Regions from separate parts of the Homo sapiens genome. Here region 2 is linked to region 1. The links are contacts of gene promoters, found by promoter capture Hi-C in blood cells and fetal thymus (Javierre and others, 2016). All regions are on one chromosome and are shown on one strand. The core of a region is centred on a gene start or on the middle of the fragment in contact, and the rest is flanking DNA. Distances in the headings are between cores, read along the strand shown.

The links. The method cuts DNA at HindIII sites, captures the fragments that hold promoters and counts their contacts. A CHiCAGO score of 5 or more calls a contact.
Region 2: a fragment that was not itself captured here is called in contact with the fragment with the promoter of BAG3 in region 1 in 1 of 17 cell types (naive CD8 T cells); the score reaches 5.9 in naive CD8 T cells.

The regions. Positions count from the first base shown.
Region 1 is chr10:119,650,085-119,652,784 of GRCh38, forward strand. BAG3 (BAG cochaperone 3) reads left to right here and starts at 1,296. Exons shown (of 4, transcript NM_004281.4): 1 at 1,296-1,771. The coding sequence starts at 1,592. RefSeq lists enhancers at 434-1,388, 769-848 and a silencer at 1,049-1,348. The HindIII fragment of the contact is 5,264 bases long and covers 1-2,233 here.
Region 2 is chr10:119,045,241-119,047,940 of GRCh38, forward strand. All of the region lies in intron 17 of EIF3A (eukaryotic translation initiation factor 3 subunit A), which reads right to left. Among named protein-coding and RNA genes, the nearest start is that of SNORA19, 14 kb to the right of the region's middle. The HindIII fragment of the contact is 2,067 bases long and covers 267-2,333 here.

The DNA of each region.
Region 1 (2,700 bases), core at 46-2,545:
AGATAGGGTCTTGCTCTGTCGCTTAGGTTGGCATGAAGAGCAAAATCATAGCTCATGGCAGCTTCAAACTCCTGGGCTCAAATGAGCCTCCCACCTCAGCCTCCTGAGTAGCTGGGACTACAGGCATAAGCCACTGCACCTGGCTTATTTTTTGTTTATGCAGAGATGGGGGTCTTACTGTGTTGTCCAGGCTGGTCTCAAACTCCTGGACTCAAGAGGTCCTCCAGTCTTGACTTTCCAAAGTGCTGGCATTATAGGCATGAGCCATGGTGGCAAGCCCTCATCAGTTATTTTTCTATGATTCTGTCTCTCTGTCCCCTCCTTACAAGGAAAGTAATTTTGAAACAACCAATCCAGTCTTGGTTCTTTGTTTCTGCTTTCTTCAGCCCTTCTCTGTCTATAAAACCAACCTCTTCTGCTCAGCTCATGGGAGCACTTATTCTAATTTAATGGAGATGTTGCCCAATTTCTAGAATCACAAATAAGATCTTTAACAATAAAAGTTAAAAAATGAAAATCAACAACAACAACAACAAAAAAGATCTTTAAATGTGTTGTAATTTTCTCCTTTGACAGGTTACAAGTGCAATTGAATAAACCAAACAAAAAATGTCATGGTTATTCGGTCTTTACTTCCCAAATCAGGGTCAAGATATAAGATAGCAAGAACCAATCTCTACCATAAAAAAGATCCAGACCCAAGAAAATGTGATTTATCTTTAAAGCTGCAACGAAACTTTCTTTTTAGTCTAGGAGACTAAAAGCCATCAGTTGATACAATCTCTTTTTTTCTTGAAGTTTCCAAAGGAAGGCAGGTGAGTTTGCACTGACTTCCATTTTCTCCCTGGCTTCCTTCCGGTGTCAGATGAGAGTCCCCGCGCTCCTCCCGGACAGCCCTCAGGGTCCTCGGCTATCATATATGGGGGAGGGGGTGGAGGTGGGCGAGATGGTTTTGTTTGTACAGGAAGGACGGGCGGCAGGCACGGGGAGCACGGGCTCCGGCCCCGGGAACACTCACTCGGCGCAAAGGAGAGGGAGAGAGCGACTATGAAAGCCGAAACCCGCCCGGGGCGCACGGAGGACGGCCCCAGTCCAGCTCGTCCGGCTTCCCACCCGCAGGCGGACCCCGAAGCCGCGCCCGCGCCCGCCCGCGGCGACTCCGGCCCGGGCACGCGCACGAGTCGGAAGGGGGAGGGGCGGGAGGAGGTGGGGGAGGGGCGAGCGGGCCGAGGCCCCGCCCCCGCTCCTCTGCCCCGCCCGCCGCGATTATAGCCGATGACTCAGGGCGGAGCTCCGCATCCAACCCCGGGCCGCGGCCAACTTCTCTGGACTGGACCAGAAGTTTCTAGCCGGCCAGTTGCTACCTCCCTTTATCTCCTCCTTCCCCTCTGGCAGCGAGGAGGCTATTTCCAGACACTTCCACCCCTCTCTGGCCACGTCACCCCCGCCTTTAATTCATAAAGGTGCCCGGCGCCGGCTTCCCGGACACGTCGGCGGCGGAGAGGGGCCCACGGCGGCGGCCCGGCCAGAGACTCGGCGCCCGGAGCCAGCGCCCCGCACCCGCGCCCCAGCGGGCAGACCCCAACCCAGCATGAGCGCCGCCACCCACTCGCCCATGATGCAGGTGGCGTCCGGCAACGGTGACCGCGACCCTTTGCCCCCCGGATGGGAGATCAAGATCGACCCGCAGACCGGCTGGCCCTTCTTCGTGGACCACAACAGCCGCACCACTACGTGGAACGACCCGCGCGTGCCCTCTGAGGGCCCCAAGGTGAGCCGGGCCCGCGGCCCGCCCTGGTCGGTGGCGCCACCTCGACGGCAGGCGGCGGGGAGTGGGCTGGGCCGGGGGGACGCGAGGCGGCGGGGCCCGGGGGTCGGCGAAGGCCCCTCGCGGGCGGACACCGGCTCCGCGCCCCGCCACACACTCCCGCTGCGCCCGGACGAGTCCCCGCTCCGGACCCGCCCTTGACAGGCGTCGGGGCGAAAGGAGGCCCCGGGATTCGGTGGCCCGGGAAGCGACCCCGCAGTGGCTCCGGTGCCGTCCACGGCTCGACTCCAGGGCGGAAGGCCGGGTGTCCAGCGCTGGCCTCGCGCTCTAGGGCTGGGAGAGGGGCGGCCGGCCTGGTCAGCTCCGGAGGCCCCGGCCCACCGTGGCCCCTGCTGCCCGCTCGGCCTCCGGGCCCGGGACCCGCGGCGCACCCTGCTGACCGCGGACTCGAGGGGGACACTCGCAAGCTTGGATGGTGGTTTTGGGGGGAATTTTACCGCTCAAGTTCTCCAACTTGGTTGAGGGGTATCTTGGCTACTGTCCCATGTTAGGCACCCAATGACTCTGGAGGCTGGTGTCAAAACATTCATATATATATGTGTGTGTGTGTATTTTAAATTAAAATTGTATTATTGTTTGAAAGTGCTTTCAATATGAACGTATCCTAGTATGATTTGTAAAATAAAAAACAGGGTGTGCTTCTCCCCAGCAGTTTCTAGAGATCTAGACTAGAGATCTGAGACTGTCTTACAGTTGGCCATTGCCTTACCACATTGCCTCACACTGGAGAGAAAGAGAATGATACGTGTATATTTATAATGGCATTCGCTTCCTGCCTTGTTATGGTATTAAAATACTTAGGATTTGTTACCAGTACACAAATAACTGACTAATGATACTCTTGTGAATACAGCAGAAGTATGTCTCATTTA
Region 2 (2,700 bases), core at 50-2,549, 600 kb before region 1:
GCCCCTTTATTTGAATTTTTGAAAAAAATGTCTTGGCAATGAAACTCTAAAATAACAACTAGAGATGAGAAGCAGTGAAAGACAAGAATGGTCAGAAAATAAATTCGTCCCGGGTCATCACAGCTAATGATTCTGGGCTGTCTCTTAAGGTGGGGGTTGTTCTAAGAGACTTTCCCAAGTAAACACCTTGAGAGAAAATAGAAACATAACAGTCAAAGGAATTTATGGGCAACACAATTGAGGGAACAAATACAGCCAGAAGGCCAAGCTTCTCCCACCCCCATGCCTGCTTTGCAATTTATACTCAACAAAGAATGCAAGGTTTTAGAGGATATAGTACAACTATTACAACCTCCAAAGACTTTTGAAGGATGGCTCTTATAGCCATTAAACAAACAAAAAGAAGTAACTCTGCCTCCTGGGCTCAAGCCATACTCCCTCCCACCTCAGTTTCCCAAGTAGCTGGGCATGCACCACCACGCCCAGCTCATTTTTGTATTTTTTGTGGAGACAGGGTCTCACTATGTTGCCAGACTGGTCTCAAGCTCCCAGGCTCAAGCGATCCGCTTGCCTGCCTCGGTCTCCCAAAGTGCTGAGATTATAGGCGTGAACCAATGTGCCCGGCCCAGCAGATCCAAGAGCAGAATGGCCCTGGCTGATGAGCAAACAAACTGAACCACGATCTCAGAGAACCTGGTACAAACAAACAAAGAGATGAAGAGAGTAAAAGAAACATTAAAGATATAAAGAGAACTTTAACAGAGCAAGAACAGAGAAAAAGGAGAAAAGTTTCCTTAAATTAAGTAGATTTTTGTCTGCTCTAAGGAGACTGAATCCTTAGACCAAAAGGGCAAAAGGCCAAAAAGAAACAAAGATACCATACACTCAGGTATCTAAACACAGTCTTAGGGACAGTTTTAACTTCCTTTACCGCAAGAATAGAGAAAAATTCTGTTTCCGAGGAATGAAACAGTATCTACAGAGTAAGACCAAAATCCTCCCCTCTGTAACACTGTGTACTAAAAACAGAAGCAAAGGTCTCTATTATTTCTGAAAAGATGATTTTGAACTGGCCAAATAATGAACCATTTATTGTTCAACGGTGAGAGAAAAAACTTATGAGACACACAAAGACATTCTGAAAACTACTGATCAAGAAACAAAAAGTACTCACAAAGGGGAAAACATGATGCAGTGTAAACATACTTGAGACTAAATAATGTTCGCTAATATGGATGGAAAACTTAAAGTAACTGTTAAGTGAGTACTAAGAGGAAAGATAATGTGTAAATATCTAGAAGCAAAAATACCCAGTCCACTGCAATAAAATATAAGTTAAGGTATGGTCATGATTTTGTTTTGTTCTGAAGAGGCAAAGGAAAGTTGTAATTTATACTGTGGAAGTTTTTTTAAAAACTTAGGAAAAAATTAATGGTGGCCAGGCACAGTGGCTCATGCCTGTAATCTCAGCACTTTGGGAGGTTGAGGTGGGTGGATCACCTGAGGTCAGGAGTTCAAGACCAGCCTGGCCAACATGGTTAAATTCATCTCTACTAAAAATACAAAATTAGCCGGGCATGGTGGCACATGCCTGTAATCCCACCTACTTGGGAGGCTGAGGCAGGAGAATCACTTGAACCTGGAAGGTGGAGGCTGCAGTGGGCCGAGATCTCGCCATTGCACTCCAGCCCGGGCAAAAAGGGCAAAAAAATTAATGGAATAGAGAAAATAAAAGTGAACCTAAAGGCCAGGCATAGTGGCTCACGCCTGTAATCCCAGCACTGTGAGAGGCTGAGGTGAGTGGACCACGAGGTCAGGAGTTCAAGACCAGCCAGGCCAACATAGTGAAAAATCCCATCTCTACTAAAAATACAAACATTAGCCAGGCGTGGTGGCACACGCCAGTAATCCCAGCTACTCAGGAGGCTGAGGCAGGAGAATTGCTTGAAACTGGGAGGCGGAGGTTGCAGTGAGCTGAGATTGCACCACTGCACTCCAGCCTGGGCAACAGAGCGAGACTGTCTCCACACACACACACACACAAAAAGAACCTAGAAAAGTTCTTCAAATTTGGCTTAAAGAAAAAGGAAGGGGTGCCAGGGACATAGAAGCAAATAAAAAGCTCCAAAGCAAGTGTTAGGAATAAAACCAAATATACTAGTTACCATGTTAAATGCAAGTAAATTAAACTAAACTCTCCCAAAAAAAAGGGAAGGTGTGTGTGGGCAAGGGGGTGAGGCATAAAACAGAAACAAGAGGCTGAAAATGTACAAAAGGGTGGACAGACACATTTGCAAATGCTAACTAAAAGAAAAGGATAATCTCAGAAGGTAAGCTTCCTCATGTTCCTAAGGAGACAGTCCCATAAACTAACAAGATGTAGCAGATTTAAACAAAACAGCGCTGATTTCATGCACACACACAACTTTGTGCTCAACAGAAAAAAACATTCATAGAACACAAGGGAAAATGTATTCTTAAATTCCAAAAACTTGTAAATCATACAGACCACATTTACTTAATACCAAGGAATTAGAACTACAAATTAGCAGTAAGAATAACACAAACTGAAGACACATAAATAACTAGTATCAAGTGTAGGCATACAGATAAGCATTTGATACAGGTGTGGCAAAAATAGAGGAGCAGAGAAAAGGCATGCAAGATATCCTTGAGCTTTCTGAGTGAAAAGTAAGCAAG